5 separate regions of the Homo sapiens genome follow, and all the other regions are linked to region 1. Evidence: promoter capture Hi-C in 16 types of primary human blood cells and fetal thymus (Javierre and others, 2016). All regions are on one chromosome and are shown on one strand. Each heading gives the region's core, a stretch centred on a gene start or on the middle of the fragment in contact. The rest is flanking DNA. Distances are from core to core; before and after follow the strand shown. Region 1 holds the start of ZNF350 (zinc finger protein 350). Region 2 overlaps LOC124904792 (zinc finger protein 480-like). Region 3 holds the start of ZNF665 (zinc finger protein 665). Region 4 overlaps ZNF665 (zinc finger protein 665). Region 5 overlaps ZNF347 (zinc finger protein 347).

What was found. Contacts are between HindIII fragments. The CHiCAGO score rates a contact against its expected background, and 5 or more counts as called.
Region 2: a contact is called between a fragment that was not itself captured here and the fragment with the promoter of ZNF350 in region 1, in 4 of 17 cell types (non-activated CD4 T cells, total CD8 T cells, naive CD8 T cells and 1 more). The highest score is 8.1, in non-activated CD4 T cells.
Region 3: a contact is called between the fragment with the promoter of ZNF665 here and the fragment with the promoter of ZNF350 in region 1, in 2 of 17 cell types (non-activated CD4 T cells and activated CD4 T cells). The highest score is 9.2, in non-activated CD4 T cells.
Region 4: a contact is called between a fragment that was not itself captured here and the fragment with the promoter of ZNF350 in region 1, in 1 of 17 cell types (non-activated CD4 T cells). The highest score is 5.3, in non-activated CD4 T cells.
Region 5: a fragment that was not itself captured here is called in contact with the fragment with the promoter of ZNF350 in region 1 in 2 of 17 cell types (naive CD8 T cells and non-activated CD4 T cells); the score reaches 6.0 in naive CD8 T cells.

What each region holds. Positions count from the first base shown.
Region 1 is chr19:51,983,739-51,989,357 of GRCh38, reverse strand. It overlaps ZNF350 (zinc finger protein 350), which reads left to right and starts at 2,518. Exons shown (of 5, transcript NM_021632.4): 1 at 2,518-2,588. RefSeq lists enhancers at 2,352-2,591, 2,178-3,053. The HindIII fragment of the contact is 6,623 bases long and covers 1-3,053 here.
Region 2 is chr19:53,207,117-53,212,735 of GRCh38, reverse strand. It overlaps LOC124904792 (zinc finger protein 480-like), which reads right to left. Exons shown (of 5, transcript XM_047439805.1): 4 at 1,929-2,109; 5 at 1,786-1,789. The coding sequence ends at 1,786. It also overlaps the pseudogene LOC100419845. Among named protein-coding and RNA genes, the nearest start is that of ZNF665, 17 kb to the right of the region's middle. The HindIII fragment of the contact is 1,597 bases long and covers 1,469-3,065 here.
Region 3 is chr19:53,190,931-53,196,549 of GRCh38, reverse strand. ZNF665 (zinc finger protein 665) reads left to right here and starts at 3,192. Exons shown (of 4, transcript NM_024733.5): 1 at 3,192-3,238. RefSeq lists an enhancer at 3,227-3,376. The HindIII fragment of the contact is 17,049 bases long and covers 1-5,619 here.
Region 4 is chr19:53,165,890-53,171,508 of GRCh38, reverse strand. It overlaps ZNF665 (zinc finger protein 665), which reads left to right. Exons shown (of 4, transcript NM_024733.5): 4 at 5,162-5,619. Among named protein-coding and RNA genes, the nearest start is that of ZNF347, 9.6 kb to the right of the region's middle. The HindIII fragment of the contact is 4,840 bases long and covers 613-5,452 here.
Region 5 is chr19:53,143,554-53,149,172 of GRCh38, reverse strand. ZNF347 (zinc finger protein 347) reads left to right here. Exons shown (of 5, transcript NM_032584.3): 4 at 364-492. Among named protein-coding and RNA genes, the nearest start is that of ZNF347, 13 kb to the left of the region's middle. RefSeq lists silencers at 1,130-1,330, 1,350-1,550. The HindIII fragment of the contact is 7,508 bases long and covers 1-5,619 here.

The sequences.
Region 1 (5,619 bases), core at 1,269-3,768:
AAGCCCGCCTCCCAGTCTCTCGGTGTTCTTAGAGATGGCGAAGGATGGGGTTGCAGCACCAGAATTCCAGAATCGGAAGTAGGTTCTGATACGTGTTCAGCCTTTGGCAGCTGCTACTGTAGCCTTGAAAGCCTGATGCTGCGTGTGAATCCGGATGGGGAGCTTGTGGGGACGACCATGAAGTGGAAACGCATGTGAATGTCCGTGTTCAGGGGTTTTATTTCAGTTTAGTCACCGAGGAATATGGGTGTGAGAAAGAGACCCTTGGGATGTCAAAGGTTAAGGCTTAGTTTTAAGAGTTTAATGACTGAGGGTCCCACGGACAGAGCTTGAGGTCTATATGTTCACTTTTCATGAGTCTCAGTAATAGAAAACTGGGGAAAGTGTGTCTCAGTGAATGCTGTTTTTTGCTCAGATTTGCAATTTAATATGGGGCTCAGATACAGAGAAGCCCGAGCTAGGAAGAGGAGTGGCGTGAATGAAAGGTCTAGGGGGAGGAGTGTCAAAGGAGTGCCTCTGTGGTAAGTTTTAAATTGAATTTGAAGGCAATTTTATTTAGAGGAAGACGGGGCTTGTCTGTGTTTGAGAATGTAATGAGGCTGGAGGCTTTCAGGTGTGCAGTTGAAGGTTAGTGGTTGCTTTGAGACTAACTGGATGCTGGAAACACTTCCTGTCAGTCTTTCAAGTCCAAATCTGTCCTGAAGGTTTCTATTTAAAAACTTTTTCTTCCTAGGTCCACTATTCTCATTGTACCCATAAAAATCAGAGTAATTCAGGGTGACGAAGTGGTGTCTTTACCGAGGAGTCTTGCTCTGTCGCCCAGGCTGGGGTGCAGTGGCGCGATCTCGGCTTACTGCAACCTCCGCCTCCCGGATTCAAGCGATTCTCCTGCCTCAGGCTCCCGAGTAGCTGGGATTACAGGCGCGCGCCACCGCGTCCGGGTAATTTTTGTATTTTTAGTAGAGACTGGTTTCGCTTTGTTGGCCAGGCTGGTCTGGAACTCCTGACCTCAGATGATCCGCCTGCCTCGGCCTCCCAAAGTGCTGGGATTACAGGTGTGAGCCACCGTGCCCCACTTCACTTTCTTAAATGTTGTGTTTAGAAGCACAAACTTAAAAAAAAATCAAGTCCACTTTATTAATTTTATTTTGTTTTGTGGGTCATCCTTTACTCTCCTCTCAGAATTAACTCACGTCCATGAGGATTATCTCCCTTTTCCTTCTCTAAGTTTTATACTTTCTCTTAAACTTAGATCTATGATCTATTTTGAGTTAACTTTTGTGTATGGTTTGAGGGTCCTAACTCATTTTTCTGGATGTGGATATCCAATTATCCCAGTGCCGCTTGTTGAAAAGACTATTCTTATTGAATTGTCTTGGCACTTTTGTCAAAAACTCTTAACAATATTTTTATACTCTCAATTCTGGCTCTGCTCTTCCCATTGGCACCTTTACTAAAAGTGGCCTTTCTAGGAGGCCCAATTCCTTTAGTCTGTCGTGGCCAGGCTCACATCGTAATTCATTCTCAAAATCTCTTTTCTCTCCTCTCCTCTCCTCTTTTCTCTTCTTTTCTCCTCTTTTCTCTTCCTTCTCCTCCTCCTCTTCCTCCTTCTTCTTCTTCTTTTTTGTAAATAATAATCATTTTTTCGAGGCCAGGCGCGGTGGCTCACACCTGTAATCCCAGCACTTTGGGAGGCCGAGACAGGCAGATCACGAGGTCAGGAGGTCGAGATCATCTTGGCCAACATGGTGAAAGCCAGTCTCTACTAAAAATACAAAAATTAGCTGGGCGTGGTGGCGCGTGCCTGTAGTCCCAGCTACTTGGGAGGCTAAGGCAGGAGAATCGCTTGAACCAGGGAGGCAGAGGTTGCAGTGAGCCCAGATCTCGCCACTGCACTCCAGCCTGGCGACAGAGCAAGACTCCGTCTCAAAAAAAATTATAATTTTTTTCTTTCTTCACCACCCGCCCCCCCGAATACCTGCTATTTTTCTGTTCTTAAAAACCGCTTCCTGCAAGCTAATTTTCGCCAGACGCTTTCCCGTGGGTGTCTGCCTACCTGATGTGTTGCCTTTTCCCTTTCTACCTGATCTGTTACCTTTTCCATTTCCAATTCATTCTCTGGGATACCTACACCTGGCTGCACTGTTACTTGTCTTTTTCAAAACCTTTTTTTTTAAATTTAACAAAGTGGATGGAAAAGCGCTAAAGGCAATTTAGCTTGCCCCATATTTGCCTGATAAAGCCTGAGTCTCTGAAAATCTGCCCCCTTTCGCAAGACTTTAAGTGCCAGGAAACGAGGCGATTTCAGTGACTTCTCTTCTTCCCTGGCTCCTGGCTCAAAAACCTGCCACTGCCTTCTGTGCGTCCAATTTTCAAACATGGCTGCCGTCAGGAGCCACGGCTATGGGCGCGGCCATTTTACAGAGTAGGAAATGCCGTAAATGCGCTTGTCCTTGCTCTTTTAAACATTTTAGGTTCTCCTCGGCCGCCGTAGGTGGACCATAAACCCGTGCGAGGACTCCAGAAGTAGGAGCAGTTTACGGAAGTGTAACGTTGAGGCCCTTCTTGTGTATCTGGAGAAAATAGAGGTCAGTGTGTGGTTTTGTCCCTGAAAGTTTTTTGTCCTAGTTCAGGTTTTGTCTCAGTGGAAGGTTTGGGAGATCTGAGGACGTGGTGTACCCTGGACCACATAGTTTTTGGCAGGAAGACTGGGGAGCGCCGGGGTATAGGCATTTGGGAGGTACCTGGTGGGAGTCTGTGATCCCCCTGTCTGTGGTCCGCGTGCCTTTGGTGTGAGTACAGTGACTAAGGGTCTGTAGTGATCAACGGCCGTGTCCTAACTGTCAAGGTATGGATCACTCTGCTTGTAAAGGATGGAGGTGGCGATTAGGATCGATGCGGCGTCTGCTTCGGGTTCAGGATTTAATTTGGAACTCAGTGATGTTGGAGTCTGGGAGGATGTCCATCGCTGTAGAGTGTCTGGTCCGTGGTTCGGATGAGTAAGAGGCATGGGGCCAGTGTCTGTGGTACAAAGGCTTGTGAGGGCTGAAGCTTTCGAGACTTTGGAGCCCTGGGTCCTGGGTTGAGGTTCGAACCTCGGTTACTGGGGCAAAAGGCGACACAGCCCCCAGCATTAGTTCGAAACCATATATCTACTCTTCTGATCCTTGGGGTGGCTATTTACAGATCGGGGGGTCAAGTTCAGTCATACCCTCCGATTATATATTGTCTATGGCTGCAAAGGCAGCGGTTGAGTTGTTGTGACAGAGACCTCGTGGCCGGCAAAATCGAAAATGTTGCCAACCTCTGCATTCACTTCTTTTATTTTTTATTTATTTTTTTTATTTTTTGAGACGGAGTTTCACTTTTGTCTCCCAGACTGGAGTGCAATGGCGCGATCTCGGCTCACTGCAATCTCCGCCTCCCGGGTTCAAGCGATTCTCCTGCCTCAGCCTCCTGAGTAGCTGGGACTACAGGCCCACGCCACCACGCCCGGCTAGTTTTTGTATTTTTAGTAGAGACAGGGTTTTACCACGTTGGGCAGGTTGGTCTCGAACTCCTGACCTCAGGTGATCCGCCCACCTTGGCTTTCCAAAGTGCTGGGATTACAGGCGTGAGCCACCGCGCCCGGCCTTCACTTCTTAATATATAGTGAGTGTTGCTTGCCCGCCTTATATTCACACTTTCTTAACAGAATCTCCATTTCGTGAAGTATTCATCCCTGTGGCAAGGCGACCCAAATCCCAGTTTCTTAGTAAGGCCTTGTTGGTCTTAGCCAATCTTGCTGGTTCCAATTGCCATTGCTAGTGATAGGTTTGACATGGAAATGAGCTTAGGCGTATGGTGCAATTCTAGCCAACTATGTATGTGAAAATCTGCCTGGGAGTTTCTGAGGGAGCATTTTCTTTTTTAAATATGTAATTTCTTGAATCTCTTTTTCCATGTTCGTGATGATATCGCCTGAAAATAACATTAATTTTCTGTCTTACTTTGTAATGCTTATAATTCATTCTTATCTTAATGCATTGGCTCAACTTTCCAGTATAAAGTAGGAAAATAGGGTGTTAGTGGACGTTCTTGTTTTATTACCCACCTGTAAAATTCACCCGTTGTGTTGTCTGGAGTTAACACCTTTCCTGGAGGTAAACTGTTTGGTATGGTTGATCTCTTCCTTTACTTTGTTAATTTTTCTACATTTATATATTTTAAATGTACAATTTAATTATCATGGAGGCAATATATGTATAAGCAGTCATTGCCCAGGTCAAGAAATAGAATATGGTCAGCACACCAGTGGTGTTCTGTGAGTCTTTTTCCATTCTCACACCGAAAAGTATTTTAGGCTTTTCTTTATATAATTAATCATTATTTATCATTGTAGTTAATACAGTTTTGCCTATTTTAAACTCTGTATATCAGTGGAATTGTACATCACTCTTTTTTTGTGTCAGCCTTCTTTTGCTCATTATTGGTGAGGGTCTTTCCTGTTGCATCTGAGTATATTTTCTTTGCTCAATGACAAGGATCAGGCGAATTTACAGTAAATATTTTAGGGCTTGCAGGCTACATATGGTCTCTTGCATATGCTAATTTGCTTTTTGTTTTACAGTCTTTCAAAAATGTAAAAAGCATTCTTGCAGGCTGGACCAAAGGTATAATAGGTTTTCTATCACATTCCATTATGTAAAATATAGCAGTTTTTTCTATTATTAATTACATTTGTATTACCTAAAGCTTGTATTATTAAGAATAATGCATGTGTGAAAATTTGTGTAAATGTCTTTTGGTTCATATGTGCTCTCATATGGGGGAGGCAGAGATGTATATCTAGATGTGCACCTCGGAGGAAAATTGCTGCTTCATAGAGTGTGTATAAACTCCGTCTAAATAGATGTCAAACTGTTTTCTAAAGTGGTTGTACCACTTACAGTTCCCCTAGCAGGATATAGTTTGCTTTATAGGGTGCTTTATGTGGCCTCTTTAAAATATCTGGCCATACCCTAATAACATTGAGAGATTCTCCTATATTAATGTTCTTTAAAGCTTTATTGATATGTTTCTACCATTGAAATTGACAGTTGATTCTAAAATGGTTTTTGTGTATGTTGTGAGGGGGGTTTTAACTTTCTGTCCCCATCCCCAGTACCATTTATTGATTTTTTTTTTTTTTTTTAATTTTTTTAGATAGAGTCTTGCTCTCGTCGCCCAGGCTGGAGTGTAGTGGCGTGCTTGGCTCAACTGCAACCTCTGCCTTCTGGGCTCAAGTGATTCTTGTGCCACGGCCTCCCGAGTAGCTGGAATTACCAGCAGGTGCCACCTTGCCTGGCTAATTTTTGTATTTTTAGTAGAGATGGGGTTTCACCATGATGGCCAGGCTGGTCTCCAACTCTGGCTCAAGTGGTCCACCTGCCTGAAGGGGGCCTGCCCCTCCACACCTGTGGGTATTTTTTGCAAGGTGGAAATGAGAGACTGAGAAAAGAAATCAGACACAGAGAGAAAGTACAGAGGAAGAAAAGTGGGCCCAGGGGACTGGTGTTCAGCATATGGGGGACCCACACCGGCACTGGTCTCTGAGTTTTGTTAGTATTTATTGATTACTATTTTTACCATCTTGGTGAG
Region 2 (5,619 bases), core at 1,018-3,517, 1.2 Mb before region 1:
GTGAGTTCTCTGATGGTCCACCAGACTTGAATTTTGAATAAATGCCTTACTACATTCATTACTTTTGTTTTGTTTCTCTCCAGAATGAATCCTGTGATGTTTTACAATTTTGAACTCTGAAAAAAAAGCCTTGTCCCACTCATTACATTTATAAGGTCTCTCTCCATTATGGATGACCTGATGTTTAGTTAGGTTTGAGCGCACGCTAAAGGCTTTGCCACACTAATTACAACTTGTAAGTTTTCTCTCCAGTGTGAATTCTCTGATGATTTTCAAGGTATGAATTTTGACTGAAACTTTTGCCACATATATCACATTTATATGGTTTCTGTCCAGTATGGATTCTCTGATGTCTAGTAAGGTGGAACATCCTATTGAAGGTCTTGCCACACTCATTACATCTGTAAGGTTTCTCTCCAGTATGAATTCTATGATGACTTGCTAGGTTTCCAATTTGCCTGAAACCTTTGCCACATATATCACATTTATATGTTTTCTGTCCAGTATGGATTCTCTGATGTGTAGTAAGGTTGGTCATCTTATTAAAGGTCTTGCCACACTCATTACATCTGTAAGATTTCTCTCTAGTGTGAATTCTCTGATGATTTTCAAGGTATGAATTTTGACTGAAATCTTTGCCACATGTATCACATTTATACGGTTTCTGTCCAGTATGGATTCTCTGATGTCTTGTAAGGTGGGACCTGTAATTAAAGGTCTTGCCACAATCACTACATTTGTAAGGTTTCTCTCCAGTATGAATTCTATGATGACTTGCTAGGTTTGCAATTTGCCTGAAACCTTTGCCACATATATCACATTTATATGGTTTCTGTCCAGTATGGATTCTCTGATGTCTAGTAAGGTGGAACATCCTGTTAAAGGTCTTGCCACACTCGTTACATCTGTAAGGTTTCTCTCCAGTATGAATTCTATGATGACTTGCTAGGTTTCCAATTTGCCTGAAACCTTTGCCACATCTATCACATTTATATGGTTTCTGTCCAGTATGGATTCTCTGATGTGTAGTAAGGTTGAACGTCTGATTGAAGGTCTTGCCACACTCATTACATCTGTAAGGTTTCTCTCCAGTATGAATTCTATGATGACTTGCTAGGTTTGCAATTCGCCTGAAACCTTTGCCACATATGTCACATTTATGTGGTTTCTGTCCAGTATGGATTCTCTGATGTGTAGTAAGGTTGGACCTCTGATTAAAGGCCTTGCCACAATCACTACATTTGTAAGGTTTTTCCCTAATGTATGCTTTCTGGTCTTGTGTGAGTAATGAAGGATGCATAAAATCATTCCTGTATATATTAGAAATGCTGGTGTTGACACAAGGAAGATTTGTTTGAAGTAATGAAACTGAGGACCCACGGGTGACAGACTTCTCAATTTGATTACATTCATAAATTTTCCTTTCAATTTGAAATCCCTGCAGTTCAGCCAGATGCAACCAAAAGCTTAGTTCAAGCTGATTTTCAACTGGCTTATTTCCTGCATTCCTTCCATCACCTTGATCTCTTCTTCCAGTGATGTTTTTAATTTTAATTGCAGGTATTTCTCTGTAATTTCTCTCATCATTGTGACACTGACACTCAAAGTCATGAATATTTTGCTGCATTTCTCTGAAGTAAAAATCTTGGATGTCATGGATTTCATGTCTTTCCAACATCACTGCTTGGAATACTTTTCCTGTGCTATTGTTCTCTTTTGGTGGTAATTCCTTGATCATATGTGTAGGAGAGACATCTACAAGATATTTAAAAAACAGGTTTTCTATTAACTACAGTTGGCAAATCAGTAGTTCATATTGAAAAATATATCGGCCGGGTGCAGTGGCTCACGCCTGTAATCCCAGCACTTTGGGAGGCCAAGACAGGCAGATCACCTGAGGTTAGGAGTTCCAGACCAGGTGGCCAACATGGTGAAACCTCATCTCCATTAAAAATGCAAAAATTAGGGATTTGCTGGCAAGATGGCCAAATAGGAACAGCTCTGGCCTGCGGCTCCCAGCGAGATCGACACAGAAGGCAGGTGATTTCTGCATTTCCAACTGAGGTACCCACTTCATCTCACTGGAATTGGTTGGATAGTGGGTGCAGCCTACAGAGTGCAAGAGAAAGCAGGGTGGGGCGTCACCTCACCAGGGAAGTGCAAGGGGTTGGGGGATTTCCCTCCCTAGCCAAGGGAAGCTGTGAGGGACTGTGCCATGAGGAACGGTGCACTCTGGCCCAGATACTGTGCTTTTCCCACAGTCTTCACAACCGGCAGACCAGGAGATTCCCTCCAGTGCCTACGCCACCAGGGCCCTGGGTTTCAAGCACAAAACTGGGTGGACGTTTAGGCAGACACCGAGCTAGCTGCAGGAGTTTTTTTTTCATACCCCCGTGGCACCTGGAACACCCGTAAGACGGAACTGTTCACTCCCCTGGAAAGGGGGCTGAAGCCAGGGAGCCAAGTGGTCTGGCTTGGGGGGTCCCACCCCCACGGAGCCCACCAAGCTAAGATCCATGGACTTGAAATTCTCACTGCCAGCACAGCAGTCTGAGGTCGACCTGGGACACTTGAGCTTGGTGGGGGGAGGGGCATCCGCCATTGCTGAGGCTTGAGTAGGCGGTTTTACCCTCACAATGTAAACAAAGCTGCCGGAAAGTCTGAACTGGGCAGAGCCCACCACAGCTCAGCAAGGCCACTGCGGCCAGACTGCCTCTCTAGATTCCTCCTCTCTAGGCTGGGCATCTCTGAAAAAAAGGCAGCAGCCCCAATCAGGGACTTATAGATAAAACCCCCATCTCCCTGGGACAGAGCACCTGGGGGAAGAGGCGGCTGTGGGAGCAGCTTCAGCAGACTTAACCGTCCCTGCCTGATAGCTCTGAAGACAGCAGCGGATCTCCCAGCACGGCGTTTGAGCTCTGATAAAGGACAGACTGCCTCCTCAAGTGGGTCTTTGGCCCCCCATGTATCCTCACTGAGAGATACCTCCCAGTAGGGGGCCGACAGACACCTCGTACAGGAGAGCTCTGGCTGGCACCTGGCGGGTGCCCCTCTGGGATGAAGCTTCCAGAGGAAGGAACAGGCAGCAATCTTTGCTGTTCTGCAGTCTCTGCTGGTGATACCCAGGCAAACAGGGTCTGGAGTAGACCCCCAGCAAACTCCAGCAGACGTGGAGCAGAGGGGCCTGACTGTTAGAAGGAAAACTAACAAACAGGAATAGTATCAACATCAACTAAAAGGACATCCACTCAGAGACCCCATCTGAAGGTCACCAATATCAAAGACCAAAGGTAGATAAATCCACAAAGATGGGGAGAAACCAGCACAAAAAGAACCAGAATGCCTCTTCTGTTCCAAAGAATCACAACTCCTCACCAGCAAGGGAACAAAACTAGGAGAATGAGTTTGACGAATTGACAGAAGTAGGCCTCAGAAGGTGGGTAATAACAAACTCCTCTGAGCTAAAGGAGCATGTTCTAACCCAATGCAAGGAAGAAAAGAACCTTGAAAAAAGGTTAAATGAATTGCTAACTAGAATAACCACTTTAGAGAAGAACATAAATGACCTGATGGAGCTGAAAAACGCAGCATGAGAACTCCATGAGGCATACATAAGTATCAATAACTGAATTGATCAAGCAGCAGAAAGGATATCAGAGATTGAAGATCAACTTAATGAAATAAAGTGAGAAGACAAGATTAGAGAAGAAAGAGTGAAAAGAAATGAACAAAGCCTCCAAGATATATGGGACTGTGTGAAAAGACCAAATCTACATTTGATTGGTGTACCTGAAAGTGATGGGGAGAATGGAACCAAGTTGGAAAATACCCTTCAGGATATTATTATAGGAGAACTTATCCAACCTAGCAAGACAGGCCAACATTCAAATTCAGGAAATACAGACAACACCACAAAGATACTCCTCAAGGAGAGCAACCCCAAGATACATAATCGTCAGATTCACCAAGGTTGAAATGAAGGAAAAAATGTTAATGGCAGCCAGAGAGAAAGGTCAGGTTACCCACAAAGGGAAGCCCTAAGACTAACAGCAGATCTCTTGGCAGAAACTCTACAAGCCAGAAGAGGGTGGGGGCCAATATTCAACATTCTTAAAGAAAAGAATTTTCAGCCCAGAGTTTCATATCCAGCCAAACTAAGCTTCATAAGTGAAGGAGAAATCAAATCCTTTACAGACAAGCTAATGCTGAGATATTTTGTCACCACCAGGCCTGCCTTATAAGGAAGGAAGCACTAAACATGGAAAGGAACAACTGGTACCAGCCACTGCAAAAACATACCATATTGTAAAGACCATCGACACTATGAAGAAACTGCATCAACTAATGAGCAAAATAACCAGCTAGCATCATAATGACAGGATCAAATTCACACGTAACAATATTAACCTTAAATGTAAATGGGCTAAATGCCCCAATTAAAAGACACAGACTGGCAAATTGGATAAAGAGTCAAGACCCATCGGTGTGCTGTATTCAGGAGACCCATCTCACATGCAAAGACACACATATACTCAAAATAAAGGGATGGAGGAATATCTACCAAGCAAATGGAAAGCAAAAAAAGCAGGGGTTGCAATCCTAGTCTCTGATAGAACAGACTTTAAACCAACAAAGATCAAAAGAGACAAAGAGGGGCATTACATGATGGTAAAGGATCAATGCAACCAGAAGAGCTAACTATACTAAATATATATGCACCCAATACAGGAGCACCCACATTCATAAAGCAAGTTCTTGGAGACCTACAAAGAGACTTAGACTCCCACACAATAATAGTGGGAGACTTTAACACCCCACTGTCAATATTAAACAGATCAATGAGACAGAAAACTAACAAGGATATCCAGGACTTGAACTCAACTCTGGACCAAGCAGGCCTAATAGACATCTACAGAACTCTCCACCCCAAATCAACAGAATATACATTCTTCTCAGCACCACATCGCACTTATTCTAAAATTGACCACATAATTGGAAGTAAAACACTTCTCAGCAAATGCAAAAGAATGGAAATCATAACAAACCGTCTCTCAGACCACAGTGCAATCAAATTAGAACTCAGGATTAAGAAACTCATTCAAAACTGCACAACTACATGGAAACTGAACAACCTTCTCCTGAATGACTACTGGGTAAATAATGAAATGAAGGCAGTCTTTGAAACCAATGAGAACAAAGACACAACATACCAGAATCTCTGGGACACATTAAAAGCAATGTGTAGAGGGAAATTTATAGCACTAACTGCCCACAAGAGAAAGCGTGAAAGATCTAAAATCAACACCCTAACATCACAATTAAAAGAACTAGAGAAGCAAGAGCAAATAAATTCAAAAGCTAGCAGAAGACAAGAAGTAACTAAGATCAGCGCAGAAGTGAAGGAGATAGAGGCACGAAAAATCCATCAAAAAATAGACGAATCCAGAAGCTGGTTTTCTGAAAAGATCAACAAAATAGATAGACCACTAGCCAGACTAATACAGAAGAAAAGAGAGAAGAATCAAATAGATGCAATAAAAATTATAAAGGGGATATCACCACCAATCCCACAGAAATACAAACTACCATCAGAGAATACTATAAACACCTCTACACAAA
Region 3 (5,619 bases), core at 1,943-4,442, 1.2 Mb before region 1:
TGCACAGGGCTGACTCTCTCCCTCCATGGTGAATGGGTGTAGAATGTGGAGGGGATTGCATTAAGTTCTGTTGAGAGGTGACTTGAAATTACTTACACATTCTGCCCAGGCAGAGTTTTGCATTTCACATTCTAGTTTGCATACCCTTCACAGACATTTTCAGGGCTTTTTAGTTAAGTTGCTTAAATTAATTCAAATTGCAGAAACTTTCCTGGATTCAATCTACCCCAAACCGACACCCCCAGAGATGCCAGATCCCCACCCAGAGTTGCTTCAGTCTCACTAGCAGCTCTTCTGTCCTACCTGCTGGCAGTAATAACCATTTCAACGTGAACCATTTCAACTTCTGTCCCATTCGCTGGCAAAAATACCTTTTAACGTATTTTAACGTATTAACGTATAAGTTTAACCATTTCAACTTTCTTTTGCCCAAGATTCCTATTCCCATGGTCAGGTTGGGATCTACCCTCAATAATAACTACGGTGGCCCAGGGCGTTGTAATCTGTGTGCAGCATTGAGCACCAAGGCTCTGTGTTCTGCGTTTCTGATTACATTTTTCAGCTCTAAAATTTCTCTGTTTTTCCTTTATAGCTTCTGTCTCTCTATTGATAGTCTCATTTTGCTCATATCTTGTTTTCCTGATTTCCTGTGGTTGTCTATGTGTGCTCTCCTCTTAATTCATTGACCATCTTGTGACTCTTATTTTCAATTCTTTGTCTGATAATTCACACATCTTCATTTCTTTAGTGTCAGTTTGTGGTGGTTTCATTTGTTCCTTTGTGTGGATCATGTTTCCTTTTCTCCTTGAATGTCTTGTTATCTTGGCACCTCAGCATTTCACTAATCAACCAGTCCTACTTTTTTATTTCTGGCTTCCTTCAGGGAGGACCTTCTCTATTCAGCCTGACTAGAGATTCTGGAAACCTCTGAAGCCTTTTCTGGGAATGTGTCGTCTCTGGGCTTTTGCTTGTAGTTACCTGAGAAGGTTTGCCAGTTTTTCTTCAGGAGAGCTCCTGTTGACAGTCTGCAATTCTGCAGTCCCTGTGTTTTCATGGTAAGCTGTGGTCTGGTTCTCCACCTAGTGTCTGCCTGCGTTACTGCAGACTCTCGTTTATGTTGCTTGCCTTTGTTCTCAATGGTTTCCCTGACCTGGCATCCTGTCACTTTTGATGGTACTTCTGTTACTTAACTGATTCTTTAGGTTTAATTGTAATTGTTGAGGGGTTTTTTGTTTTTGTTTTGTCTTTATTTTGTTGAGATGGGGTTTCACTATATTGCCCAGGCTGGTCTTGAACTCCTGGGCTCAAGCACCCCTCCTGCCTCAGGCTCTCAAAGTGCTGGGATTACAGGTGTGAGCCACTGCTCTCAGCCTAACTGTAATTCTTAGATGCCTGGGTTCGGGGCTTGCTCTGTCATTTCTAGCTCTTGGACCTTAGGCCAGTTTCTTAGCGTATCTGTGACAGTTTCTTTCTTTTTCTTTTTTTTGAGACGGAGTCTTGCTCTCGCCCAGGCTGGAGTGCAGGGGCGCCATCTCGGCTCACTGCAAGCTCCGCCTCCCGGGTTCACGCCATTCTCCTGCCTCAGCCTCCCGAGTAGAGTAGCTGGGACTACAGGCGCCCGCCACCACGCCCGGCTAATTTTTTTGTATTATCATTAGAGACGGGGTTTCACCGTGTTAGCCAGGATGGTCTCCTGGTGACCATCGTGATCCGCCCGGCTCGTGATCCGGTCCTGACCTCGTGATCCGCCCAGCTCGGCCTCCCAAAGTGCTGGGATTACAGGCGTGAGCCACAGCGCCCGGCCGACACAGTTGTTTCCTAGTAAGATAGGAAAAGATCTTTTTCTCATGGGCTATTATGTTGTTATTTGAGTTAATACAGGTAAAGTATTCCGAATAATGCCTTGCACATAGTGTTCAGAAAAGTCAGTCATTGCTATTGCCATTATCATCACAGTTTTTACTTCTGGCCAGTGTTTCTGTAAAGCCACTGTGGACCTTGTCACCTCAGAAGACATCATTCGTGCTTTAGCTTATCTAGATACGGAGTATCACTTAGTGTGTTGAAAATAATATCTAACACTTCTATAGAGATCAGCTTGTGTTTGGGTTTTTATTTGTCTATTTATTGTATTGTCCACAAAACTGAAAACTCCACACAGATTTAGAGGCTATTATAACTACTTAGGGAAAAGTACAATAAAACAGAATTAGGGAGACATAACTTGCTCAAAAATGCCTTCACGCTGGGGCGGTGGCTCAGTGAGCCGAGATCATGCCATTGCATTCCAGCCTGGGCGACAAGAGCAAGACTCTTGTCTAAAAAAAAAAAAAAAAAAAAAAAAACAACAACAAACCTCACATATTCGTATTTAAGAATATAGGAAACACTGATTCAGTTTCTTCTACTGTTCTCTCACAACACAGAATGCTACAGTTAGCCCAGAGGTACTGGGTTTTCCCACACACACCAAGCAAGCAATCCTGCCACAGACACCAGGTGCGTGTTCTCTCATTCCGTTCCATTTTGCCGGGACATGGCATCAGATCCCACACGTTGAGGGCTCAGTCCCACAATAGTGCACACATTTCAATGCCAGTCTCAAGCAGAGGTTGTGACTTGTGCTTACAGATCAGATATAAATCCAGGAGTCCCTTGACCCCCTCCTCAGGTTCAACGAATTTGCTAGAGTGGCTCACAAAATACAGGGAAACACTTTACATAGATTTACGTATTATAAAGGATATTACAAAGTTGACAGAAGAACAGCCAGATGGAAGGGATCAGTGAGGTGAGGCATGGGAGAAGGGGCGTTGAGCCTTGGTGCCCTCCCTGGGTGCACCACGCTGCAGGAGCCTCCCAGTGTTCACCTATCCAGAAGCTCCGCTGAATCCTCTCCTTTTGGGTTGTTATGGCGCCTTCATTACATATGCATGATTGCTTATATTACTGGCCATTGGTTAAACTTTTAGATAGCCTAAGTTTTGTTTTTTTTTTTTTTTGGGAGAGACGAAGTCTCACTCTGTCACCCAGGCTGGAGTGCAATGGCGCGATATCGGCTCATTGCAACCTCCGCCTCCAGGGTTCAGGCCCCGCCCCGGCCCCGCCCACCCTATGCTCTCAGTCCCTCCCAACGCCTGGCCTTTCCCCACCGCAACCCGCCCCTTTGCCTACTGCGCGGGCAGTTTCTTGCAAACCCGGAAGCAGATCTCTTGGAGTGAAGGCTGTTAGTCGCCGCGTGAGTTTCCCTCTATCTAGATTAAACCTGCGTTTCGGAGTCCCCTGCTCCTCCGTACCCGATGTCCGGGGGTTCGTATAGCCCTTAAAGTCCCCGCACGGCTCCCTCCATTCCATGTAAATTCAGACTTTGCCGCGAGACTCTGGGGGTCGCATCGCTTTGGGTTAAAATCACACAGGCTGGTCCTGCCCGCGGTCTTTCGGCCTTCAGACCATGCAGACACCTCCTTTCCTGCGCCGTTTCCTGCTTAAAACCCTTTACTGACCTGCGCCCTGTGAAGTCCTCATCTGCGAAGTGGGTGCAGGATTTTACCGTCCCCTAACCTCGCCCTAGTCAGCTACTGGAGCGTTAGCGCCGCAGCCCCAGTCCCGGGGAGGCCGCGCCTCTGCCTGGTCCTGGGATCCTGCATACCCCACCCCTCTCCTAAGGCGCCGTCGCCCCCCACCTCCCTCCTCCTCGTGCCGGGCCCTGCTGCTCCCTAGGCCTCCCCTTCGCAGTCACCGTTTCCCCTGAGCCCGCGTTGGGGAGGTGCCCGGGCCTTGTCCTGTGATACCCGGTGTTCTTGCCTGCCCAGCTCCACCCGCTGGAAAATGTGCTCCTCCAGGATCCAGGTGTCTTACTCCAAACCCTCCCTGTGAATGTGTGGGCCAAGGGGATCAGGAGACAGAGAGGGGGGCTGAGAGAAAAGTAGAAAAACGGAGACAGAGGAAAGAATGAGGGAAACCAGTAAACATGGCAAAGTAGAGGATGGGTCAGGATTTACAAAGAGACAGTAAGGGTGAAAGAAGTCGCTGAGAAAGTAACAGGATGGAGAAACAACTGGAGAAATGTAGAGAAAAGCTCGCTGTCTAGAGAGATGAAGGACAGCAAGGTAGGGAGAGGGGCAGCTCCTCAGACGGAGAGTTAGGGAGAGGAGGGGGTATTTGGAGCCAGGATAGACAGAGCAGCGTGGTGCTGGGACAGCAAGAAGGGGCAGCTGGTGACAAGGAGAGCAGAGGGAGAACCACAGCAGGGGGAGACCTGGGATCTGGGGGTGCCAAAGAGTGGGGACAAGGAAGTGAAACAGGGAAGAGGGGATTTAACAGGGAGAGCAGAGATAAGGGAAGAAAGAGGCAGAAATAGATGGAGATTGGGGACAACCAAAAGACGGGTGAAAGAGGAATAAGAGGTGAAACAAGTTGCAAGAATGGAACAGAACAAGTGGAAGAGAAGGATAGAGGGAAGGAGAAACAGCAGGAGAAGAGAGGGGCTCAAAATGAGGAGCAGAGACCCAGGCTGAAACACAGAAAAGAAACAAGGAGAGAGAAGAAGAGAATGAGAGAGATGTACAGAATGAGGGAGGGAAACACACAGGAAGGAAGAAAGAGGGGGACTATGGCCCAGATGCATGGTGGTTTCATTGGATATGGATAATTACATCGTGATATATTGATTTCTGTATCCATAATCTAACAAATTTTTTTTTTCTTAAGACAGAATCTCACTCTATTTCCCAGACTGGCGTGCAATGGCACGATCTCGACTCACTGTAACTCCGCCTCCTGGGTTCAAGCGATTCTCTTGCCTCAGCCTCCCGAGTAGCTGGGATTACAGGCATGCACCACCACACCTGGCTAACTTTTGTATTTTTAGTAGAGACGGGGTTTCACTATGTTGACCAGGCTGGTCTCGAACTCCTGACCTCAGGTGATCTACCCACCTCAGCGTCCCAAAATGCTGGGATTACAGGCATGAGCCACTGTGCCCAGCCCCTAATAATCTAACAAATTTTATATGTATATATTTTGTTTCTGTTATGGAGATGCTGGTGAGAATCACAAAAGTTTTGTCTATAAGACATGTGCATTTTATAATTCCTGGCATCAGAGGTTAGCTTCTATTTGCAATCTCTGTTCTAAGAGAGCAGTGACTTGACTCATTCAGTTATGGGTCACCCTCTTTCCTTTTCCTAGGATGGGGTAATGTGTAGGCAAGTGTATGAGTGAGGAGGAAAAACCAAAGTGTTTTTCCCACTCTCATAATCAAGTAATGAACGCTCAACAAAGAATGCATCGCCTCTCATCACCAAAACGTGTGGGGTGGGGATTTCTCCTCACCAACACGCAGTTCTTGAACAAACACTACCTGACTGTCCAATAATTTAATTCAATTCGGACACTGTCTACCCAGAGTTAGCATTAGATCCCACTAGTTGAGGGTTCCCTCTTCAGATACCAGCCCCAAGTCCCAGATTCGGAGCTTCGGATCCATTGAGTATAAATTTGGGATTCTCCTCATCCCTTCCTGAGGTGCTATTAATTTGCCAGAGCAGCTCATAGAACTCAGGGAAACATTTTCCTTGGTTTACCCAATTGTTTTTTGTTTGCCGGTCTGTTTTTGAG
Region 4 (5,619 bases), core at 1,783-4,282, 1.2 Mb before region 1:
TATACACACACACACACACAAATGTAAAGATATAATAATCATAATTGTATAGAACTAATTTTAGTACATAGTGTACTGCCATACAATTTCATAGCCACCTCCTATTGCTATTACATGGAGCTCAAGTGTTGCAAGTATTTGCTTAATACACTCTGTAACGCTAATCATCTTTAAGTAGTTCATCTCTCCAGTAAATTGCATATCATAATAAAAAGTGATCTCTTGCCGCATGCGGTGGCTCAAGCCTGTAATCCCAGCATTTTGGGAGGCCAAGGTAGGCAGATCATGTGAGGCCAGGAGTTCGAGACCAGCCTGGCCAACATGGTGAAACCCCGTCTCTACTAAAAATATAAAAAATTAGCTGGGCCTAATGGTGGGCACCTGTAATCCCAGCTACTTGGGAGGCTGAGGCAGGAAAATTGCTTCAACCCGGGAGGTGGAGGTTGCAGTGAGGTGAGATTGTGCCACTGCACTCCAGCCTGGTGACAGAGCAAGACTCCGTCTCGAAAACAAACAAACAAACAAACAAAAAAGGAATACAGTATATAATACATATAACATAAAAAATACAAGATACATTCTAATCGACATTATATGTTTATTAGTAAAGCTTCCAGTCAATCGTAGGCTATTAGTGGTTAAGTTTTTGGGGAGTCAAAAGTTATACACAGATTTTCAACTGAGTGGAGGGTTGGCATTCTTAACCCCTACATTGTCCAAGGGTCAAGTATAGATCCAAAGGATTTAAATCAGCATATCTATGACGTATCTGCATTCCATGTTTAATGCAGCATTGTTCACAATAGTCGAGTTATGAAATCAAACTACGTGTTCATTAACAGATGAATGGATAAAGAAAATGATGGAACACTGTGTAGCCTTTAAAAGAAGGAAGTTCTGTCTGCCAGAACATGGATGGACCCCGAGGATATTTTGCTAAATGAAATAATCTAGGCACAGAAATACAAGTACTGCACCTTCTTACCTATATGTGGAATCCAAACCTCTTGAACTCATAGAAAGAAGAACGTTGGTTACAAGAGGGTGGGGTTGGGGAGATTAGGAAGATGTTTGTCGTTTCAACACAAAGGTTCAATTAAACAAGAGTAAATGACACATTTTTCACATGATGGATGTGGTAATAAGCGTGATTCCATCATTCCACATTCTATATATGCATCATGACATCATTTTTTCCCCATAAATATATACACCTGTAGTTTGCCATTATACAATAAAAGTTTTTTTTAAAAAAGTTATATTCCATTCCTCACACCAGTTAGAATGGCAATCATTAAAAAGTCAGGAAACAACAGGTGCTGGAGAGGATGTGGAGAAATAGGAACACTTTTACACTGTTGGTGGGACTGTAAACTAGTTCAACCATTGTGGAAGTCAGTGTGGCGATTCCTCAGGGATCTAGAACTAGAAATACCATTTGACCCAGCCATCCCATTACTGGGTTTATACCCAAAGGACTATAAATCATGCTGCTATAAAGACACACGCACACGTATGTTTATTGCGGCACTATTCACAATAGCAAAGACTTGGAACCAACCCAAATGTCCAACAATGATAGACTGGATTAAGAAAATGTGGCACATATACACCATGGAATACTATGCAGCCATAAAAAATGATGAGTTCATGTCCTTTGTAGGGACATGGATGAAATTGGAAATCATCATTCTCAGTAAACTATTGCAAGAACAAAAAACCAAACACCGCATATTCTCACTCATAGGTGGGAATTGAACAATAAGAACACATGGACACAGGAAGGGGAACATCACACTCTGGGGACTGTTGTGGGGTGGGGGGAAGGGGGAGGGATAGGCTTTAGGAGATACACCTAATGCTAAATGACAAGTTAATGGGTGCAGCACACCAGCATGGCACATGTATACATATGTAACTAACCTGCACATTATGCACATGTACCCTAAAACTTAAAGTATAGTAATAATAATAAAAAAAGAAATATTTCCATTAAAAAAATTTTTTTTAAAGCCATCCAACCTATTTTCCAAAGTGGTTGTAGCCTTTTACATTCCCACTACCAGTGTGTGAGAATTTTAGTTTTTTCACATCCTTGTTAACACTTGGTATTGCTAGTTTTAAATTCCAGCCTTTCTAATCAACATTTAGTAGTTTAATTTGTATTTTCCTAATGACTATGATGTTGAATATCTTTTAATGTGCTTATTATCTATATATATTAATATTTTCTTTTGTGCAGTGTATGTTCAAATCATTTTCCAATGTTTAAAATTGGGCTTTTTGTTTTCTTAATATTGAACTTTGAGAGTTCTTTGTATATTCCAGATACAAAGTCTTTATCAGATTTGTGCTTTGTGAATATTTTCCCTCAGTCCGAGTCTTCATTCTTTTAACAGTGTGTCTTTATAAATTAATTCTTTTTTTTCTTTTATGGATCATGATTGTGGTATCATATCTAGGAAATCTTTGCTTGATCCGAGGGCTCCACAGATTTTTCCTCATGTTGGTTTTCTAAAAGTTTTATGGTTTAGATTTTACATTAGGTTTTCATCTGATCTATTTGAGTATATTTTTCTATATGGAATGAGGTATAAACAAAAGGGTTTTTTTGCATATGAAGATCTAATTGTTTCAGCACCATTTTTTAAAAAGACTGTCTTTTCTCCATGGAATTGCCATTTATTCTTTGTCAAAAATCAGTTGTCTATATAACGTGAGTCTATTTCAGTATTCTCTATTTCATTCCATTGATCTATTTGATATTTGTCTAATCAACAATAATCACACTGTCTTGATGACTACACTTTTATAATGAAAGCAGGTAGTGATAGTGTTACAACTTTCTTCTTTATCAAAATTGTTTTAATTATGCTAGATCCTTTCCATTTTCCTATGAATTTTAGAAAGCCTGTTAATTTCTCAAAAAATACATGCTGGAATTTTGGTTGGGATTGTGTTGAATCAATAGGCTAAATGGGGAGTGTTGCTGTTTTAACAATATTGAGTCTTCTAAATGCTGAACAAGATATATTTAGCTTTTCATTTATTTAGGTCTTCTTTAATTCCTCTCTGCAATATTTTATAGTTTTTAGTGTATAGGTTCTTCATATCTGCTGTCGGACTTTTCTCTAAGTATTTAATGTTTTTAAAGCTATTGCAAACTGCATTTTAGAAAACTTTCTGATTATTCATTGCTAGTATATAGAAATAAAATTGATTCTTTGGGGTATTGATAATGTATTCTTCAACCTTGCTAAACTCACTAGTTCTAGCAGCATTTTTGTAGAGTATATTGAATTTTCTCAAGGATGATTATGTTATCTGCAAATAAAGACAGTTTTATTTCATAAAAAAAAATTATATTCCAGTTCTTATATCCTGTGCTGGTTCTGAAGTAGAACTCCTCTTTTCTTTCTTTCTTTCTTTTTTTTTTTTTTTTTTTTTTTTTTTGAGAGGGAGTCAGGCTGTGTCGCCCAGGCTGGAGTGCAATGGCACAATCTCGGCTCACTGCAAGCTCCACCTCCTGGATTCACGCCATTCTCCTGCCTCAGCCTCCCGAGTAGCTGGGACTGCAGGCGCCCGCCACAACGCATGGCGAATTTTTTGTATCTTTAGTAGAGACGGGGTTTCATCGTGTTAGCCAGGATGGTCTCGATCTCCTGACCTCGTGATCCACCCGCCTCGGCCTCCCAAAGTGCTGGGATTACAGGCGGGAGCCACCGGCGCCCGGCAGACTCCTCTTTTCTCAAGAGAAATTGTTGGCCAAGCACCCTGGCTTACGCCTGTAATCCCAGCACTTTAGGAGGCTGAGGTGGGTGGATCACGAGGTCAGGAAATCGAGACCATCCTGGCTAACACGGTGAAACCCCGTCTCTACTAAAAATACAAAAAATTAGCCGGGCGCGGTGGCGGGCGCCTGTAGTCCCAGCTACTCGGGAGGCTGAGGCAGGAGAATGGCGGGAACCCGGGAGGCGGAGCTTGCAGTGAGCCGAGATCGCGCCACTGCCTGGGTGACAAAGCGAGACTCTGTCTCCAAAAAAAAAGAGAGAGAAATTGTTGACAATCCACAGACTATAACTTCCTGTAAACACGGTTACTAATTCTTGCCTACTGCTTATATCCTGAGTTGCTAAAATATTTTCTTAATTTCGATTATTATTGATAGAGGATGGTTTTTTACCATTTGTAAGAAATACAACTGTTGGGGCTGGGCGCAGTGGCTCACTCCTGTAATACCAGCACTTTGGGAGGCTGAGGCGGGGGGATCACCTGAGGTCGGGAGTTCGAGACCAGCCTGACCAACATGGAGAAACCCTGTCTCTACTAAAAATACAAAATTAGTCTGGCCTGGTGGTGCATGCCTGTAATCCCAGCTACTCAGGAGGCTGAGGCAGGAGAATCGCTTGAACCTGGGAGGCGGAGGTTGCGGTGAGCCGAGATTGCACCACTCACTCCAGCCTGGGCAACAAGAGCAAAAGTCCTTCTCAAAAAAAAGAAAGAAAGAAAGAAAGAAATATAACTGTTATATACCACTTGTTAATGTTGCAAAATGTTTGCTCTGTGTGGGTATATAGGGGTATGTAGTTTTATAACAGGTATTCAGAAAAATAGTTTTTTCTGACATTTTAAAATTGAATTCCTCCTCGTTTTTTCAGTGCTATTATTGTTTTCCAATTCAAAATTACTAGTTCTTTAATTATTCATTACATATGTTTGCTGTGAGTTATTTGCCATTAGAGTATATCATGTTGTGCTTCAGCATTTACTTATGCATAACAAATATGCTTTAAATAGGCACAATCTAAGAATTATTTCTCTTGAATTCTGTGACAGCCATATAAAATATACTGCCAATTGGTAGCCTTGGGTCATGGTTGAAAAATACTCCTTTCAGGGCTAATATGGGTTTGCACAATATGAGTGTTTTGTTCACAGAATGTTTAAAACTAGGATCCCCTACTATTTGAATTACATGTTACCACCTTTTCTTTGATAAGGAATCCTGTTCCTTTTGTGTTCTGGAAAATTATGGTTCTGAAGAATCGTAAGTCTGTTCAACATAACTATTACTTTTGGTGTAACATTAGGTTTTTCAATGGGAAATAGTTATTTACCTACTATAGTTAACTGGAAATCTATGGTTGTTTATATCTTACAGATATCTCTTGTAAATGTGTAAACACGGATTTGCCACCAAAGGGGAAGAACAATATGGGAGAAGCGTTCTACACGGTGAAGTTGGAGAGACTTGAAAGCTGTGACACTGTAGGCTTGTCCTTCCAGGAAGTTCAGAAAAATACATACGACTTTGAGTGTCAGTGGAAAGATGATGAAGGAAATTATAAAACAGTACTTATGTTGCAAAAAGAAAATCTCCCTGGTAGAAGAGCTCAACGTGATAGAAGGGCTGCAGGAAACAGGCATATTGAAAATCAGCTTGGAGTAAGCTTTCAGTCACATCTCCCTGAACTGCAGCAATTTCAACATGAAGGGAAAATTTATGAATACAATCAAGTTGAGAAGTCTCCTAATAATCGAGGAAAACATTATAAATGTGATGAATGTGGCAAGGTCTTCAGTCAAAACTCACGGCTAACAAGTCATAAGAGAATTCAT
Region 5 (5,619 bases), core at 1,878-4,377, 1.2 Mb before region 1:
CCTGGGAGCTCATGCATTGCTTGGCTGAGACTGAAGCTGTGTTGACTGAAAAATGAAAATCTCCATAATGTGGAAACTGGATTTTAATTTTCCTCTTCCTGATGTCACTGGAGGGTTTCAGGACTTTTAAAATATCCAATTCCCTGTTTTCTATCCCCATGCTTTGATTCAGTGGTTTTGGGATGAGAGCTATATATTTGCATATTATAGTGTTTCCTAACAATTTATAAAGAAGCATTTAGTGGATGAATTTTTGAAGTGTTTTTTTAGATACAGCTGTAAAGTCCTCCCTCCTCATGTAAACATAGGACTGGGACTCTGGAAAATCTACAGCCCATTGTTTTCCTTTCTTTTCATAAGCAGGAATCTCTTGTTTTGACCTCAGTATTATCTCTATGTTGGAGCAAGGGAAGGAGCCTTTCACTTTGGAGAGCCAAGTACAAATAGCAGGAAACCCAGATGGATGGGAATGGATCAAAGCTGTGATCACAGGTAAGAGTTCAGATGGGTAGAGAAAATGCCGTTTATTAAATAGTGTTTGGGAAACTCTATGCAAATCTGAGAGTTCTGTGGGAAAACAAGTTTGAATTCTGTGACCTCAGAACAGAAATCTTTATTTGCCCCCTTTTGTCTATCCTTTAGACTTGTACTAGTTTATCCTTTCACCTTCCAGTGGTGCTGCAGCTCAGACAAAGGCAAAGTCTTTATCATGATGGACAACACTGTTTTCTAGCTTCTGAGAACTCTGGTTCCTTGACTCCGTGTGGCACAGGGAGGGCTGTTACAAAAGGGTTATTTCATCTCCTTTGGTGTTTCCTTCTGTAGTTGATTCTATCTGATGCCCAGTTCTCAGTCTTACAGATCCAAATTCTATATAGTTAGCTAAATTTTAAGAGTGTTTTAGTGGAGTTGTTAGGTTTTTCTAAATATAAAATCATGTCATCTGCAAAGAAGTATATTTTGACTTCTTCCTTTTCAATCTGTATGCTTTTTATTTCTTTCTCTTGCCTAATTGCTTTGGCTAGAACATCAATGCTATGTTGAATAGAAGTAGTGAAAGTGGACATCCTTGTCTTTCAGATCTTAGCAGAAAGGCTTTCAGTTTTTTCTTATTTAGTACATTCCTGCTGGATTTGTCATATATGGCTTTTATCATGCTTAGGTATGTTTTTTCTGTACCCAAGTTGTTGAGACTTTTTATTAGGAAGAGATAATGATTTTATTGAGTCATTTCCCAGCATCTATTGAAATGATAATATGCTTCTTGTCTTTGATTCTGTTGATGTGATGAATCACATTAATTGATTTGTGTGTATTAAACTATCCTTGCATTCCTGGAATAGATCCCACTTGATCATGGTGAATGTCTTTTTAATGTGTTGTTGAATTCTATTTTGTCAAGGATTTTTGCATGTATATTCATCAGGGGTAGTGGCCTATAGTTTTCTTTTTGTTGTGGTGTCCTTGTCTGCTTTTTGGTATCAGGGTAATGCTGGTCTGATAAAATGAGTTTGGAAATATGTGCTGCCTTCAATTTTTGAAATGGTTTGAGTAGAATTAGTATTCTTTATTTTTTCTTTTCTTTCTTTATTATTATTATTATTATTATTTGAGATAGTCTCTCTCTCTCTATCTCACCCAGACTGGAGTTCAGTGGCACAATCATAGCTTACTGCAAACTCAGACTCTTGGGCTCAACTGACCCTCCCTCCACATCCTCCCCAGTAGCTGGGGTTACAGGCACACACTACCACGCCCAACTAATTGTGTTTTTTTGTTTGTTTGTTTGTTTGTTTTTGAGATGCAGTCTCGTTCTCTTGTCCAGGCTGGAATGCAGTGGCGTAATCTTGGCTCACTGCAACCTCTGCCTCCCAGGTTCAAATGATTCTCCTGCCTCTGCCTCCCAAGTAGCTGGGATTACAGGCGTGTGCCACCACACTTGGCTGATTTTTGTATTTTTAGTAGAGTTGGGGTTTCACCATGTTGGCCAGGCTGGTCTTGAACTCCTTACCTCAGGTGATCCACCTGCCTCAACCACCCAAAGTGCTGGGATTACAGGCGTGAGCCACCGTGCCTGGCCAAATCCTTTTTTATTTTTTAGTAGAGCCGAGGTCTTGCTGTGTTTCCCAGGCTGCTCTCAAACTTCTGGCATCAAGCAGTCCTCCCATCTTAGCCTCCCAAACTGTTGGGATTACAGGCGTGAGCTAACATGCCTAGCCAGTATTAGTTCTTCTTCAAGTGTTTGGTATAATTCAGCAGTGAATCCATTCAATCCTGGGCTTTTCTTCTACATGAAATTTTTTTTTTTTCAGCTTCAATTTTGTTATTAGTGTCTTCAGGTTTTCTATTTCTTCATGTTTCAATCTTGATAGGTTGTATGTGTCCAGAAATGTATCCCTTTCTTCTAGGTTTTTAAATTTGTATGTAGTTGTTCATAATTGTCCCTAATGGTCCTTTGTGTATCTATGGTATCAGTTCTAATGTTTTCTGTTTTGTCTCTGATTTTATTAATTTGGGTGTACCTCCCCCCACCTTTTATTTCAGTTTAGCTAAAAGTTTGTTGATGTTGCTTATCTTTTAGAAAAACCTACTTTTCAAGCTAGGCATGGTGCCTCATGCCTGTAATCCCAGGAACTTGGGAGACTGAGAAAGGAGAATTGCTTGAGGCGGGGAGTTCAAACCAGCCTGGGCAACATAGAAAGAGACCCCATCTCTAAAAATAAAACGAAAATTAGCCAAGCATGGTAGTGCGTTTCTGTAGTCCCAGCTACTTGGGAGGCTGAGGGAGGAGGATCAGTTAAACCCAGGAGTTCAAGGCTGCAGTGAGTTATGACTGGGCCACTGCACTCCAGCCTGTGTGAGAGAGATAGACCCCATCTCTAAAAAAAAATTTTTTTAGGCCGGGCACGGTGGCTCACACCTGTAATCCCAGCACTTTGGGAGACTAAGGTGGGTGGACCACCTGAGGTTGGGAATTCAAGACCGGCCTGACCAACATGGAGAAACCCCATCTCTACTAAAAATACAAAATTAGCCGGGCGTGGGGGCACATGCCTGTAATCCCAGCTACTCGGGAGGCTGAGGCAGGGGAATCTCTCGAACTTGGGAGGCAGAGGTTATGGTGAGCTGGTATCATGCCACTGCATTCCAGCCCAGGCAACAAGAGCAAAACTCCATCTCAAAAAAAAAAAAATTTTTTTTTAATCCTACTTTTCATTTTATTGATCTTAGATTTTTTTTTAGTCTTTATTTTGGTTAGTTCTACTGTGATCTTTATTATTCCTTTCCCTCTACTACTTTTGGGTTTGGTTTGTTCTTGCTTTTCTAGTTCCTTGAGTTGTATCATTAGGTGTTTTATTTGTTGACTTACTGTTTTTTTGATATAGGTGTTTATTGCTACAAACTTTCCTCTTTTTGCTGCTTTTTCTGTATCCTATAGATTGTGCTGTTTTGCATTTTAATTTGTTTCAGGAAATTTTTAGCCAGGCATGGTGGCTCATGCCTGGAATCCCAGCACCTTAGGAGGCTGAGGCAGGCGGATTGCTTGAGCTCAGGAGTTTGAGACCTGCCTGAGCAACATGTCCAAACTCTGTCTTGGTAAAATATACAAAAATTAGCTGGGCATGGTGGTGTGTGCCTGTGGTCTCTGCTACTTGGGGGGCTGAGGTGGGTGGATCACTTGAGCCCAGGAAGTGGAGGTTGCAGTGGGCTGAGATCACACCATTGCACTCCAGTGTAGGTGACAGAGCAAGACCCTATCTCAAAAAAAAAAAAAAAGAAATGTTTTATTTCCTTCTTAATTTCTTCATTAACTCAGTGGCTGTTCAGGAATATGTTGTCTAATTTCCATGTGTTTTTGTATCTTCTTTTTTTTTTTTTTTTCTAGACAGACTCTTGCTCTGTCACCCAGGCTGGAGTGCATGGCACAATCTTGGCTCACTGCATCCTCCACCTCCTGGGATCAAGCAATTCTCCTGCCTCAGCCTCCCGAGTAGCTAGGATTATAGGCGTGTGCCACCACGCCTGGCTAATTTTTGTGTTTTTAGTAGAAACAGGGTTTCACCATGTTGGCCAGGCTGGTCTTGAACTCCTGACGCCAGGTGATCTGCCCAACTTTGGCCTCCCTAAGTGCTGGGATTACAGGTGTGAGCCATCACGCCCAGCCATGTTTGTGTATCTTCTGAGGCTCTTCTTGTTGGTTTCTAGTGTTATTTTATTGTGGTCAGAAAAGATACTAGATACAATTTTGACTTTTTTGAATTTATTGAGACTTGTTTGGTGTCTTAACATATAATCTATCCTGAAGCATAATCCATGTGCTGATGAGAAGAATATGTATTTTGCAACAGCTGGATAAAATGGTCTGTAAACGTCTGTTAGGGCATGGAACATACCTGTAATTTTAGCTACTTGGGAGGCTGAGGAGAGAGGAATGCTTAAGGCCAGAAGTTCAAGGCTGCAGTGCACTGTGAACTCACCTGTGACTAGGCAATGGACCACAGCCTGGGCAACATAGGGAGATCCCATCTGTTTAAAATAGAAAAAAAATTTAAAAAGTCTTTTTTTAGGTCCATTTAGTCTGCAGTATATTTTAACTCTAATTTTTTTTTTATTGGTTTTCTGCCTGGATGACCTATTCATTACCAAAAATTGTGTTTTGAAGTCCCCTAATATTATTGTATTGCTACCTGTCTCTCCCTTTAGATTTATTAACATTAGCTTTACATATTTGGGTGTGTACTTATTTATTATGTCCTTTTGCTAAGTTGATCCTTTTCTCATTATATACTGACTTTGTCTCTTTTTACACTTATTGACTTAAAGTCTATTTTATCTAAGTATACCTACTACTGCTCTTTTTTGATTTCTAGTTCCATGAAATATCTTTTTCCATCCCCTCACTTTTTGTCTACATGTATCCTTATAGGTGAAGTGAGTTTGTTGTAGGCAACATATAGTTAGCTGTATGTTTTATAATCCATTCAGCAGGCCTCTCTCTTGTAATTGGAAAATTTAGTCCATTTCTATTTAATGTTATTATTGATAGGTAAGGACTTATACTACCAGAGAAATCACTTAAACACAAAGGAAGACAGTAAGAAAGAAAGCAAGAGAGAAGTTAGAAAACAATTAGAAAAGAAGTAACAAAACGGCAGTATGTTTTAATTCATTGCTTTTTATTATTAATATGTCTATTACAGGCTTTTACTTTGTGGTGACCATAAAATAAGGCTTACGTCTCACACCAGTTAGAATGGCGATCATTAAAAAGTCAGGAAACAACAGGTGCTGGAGAGGATGTGGAGAAATAGGAACACTTTTACACTGTTGGTGGGACTGTAAACTAGTTCAACCATTGTGGAAGTCAGTGTGGCGATTCCTCAGGGATCTAGAACTAGAAATACCACTTGACCCAGCAATCCCATTACTGGGTATATACCCAAAGGATTATAAATCATGCTGCTATAAAGACACATGCACACGTATGTTTATTGTGGCACTATTCACAATGGCAAAGACTTGGAACCAACCCAAATGTCCAACAATGATAGACTGGATTAAGAAAACGTGGCACATATACACCATGGAATACTATGCAGCCATAAAAAATGATGAGTT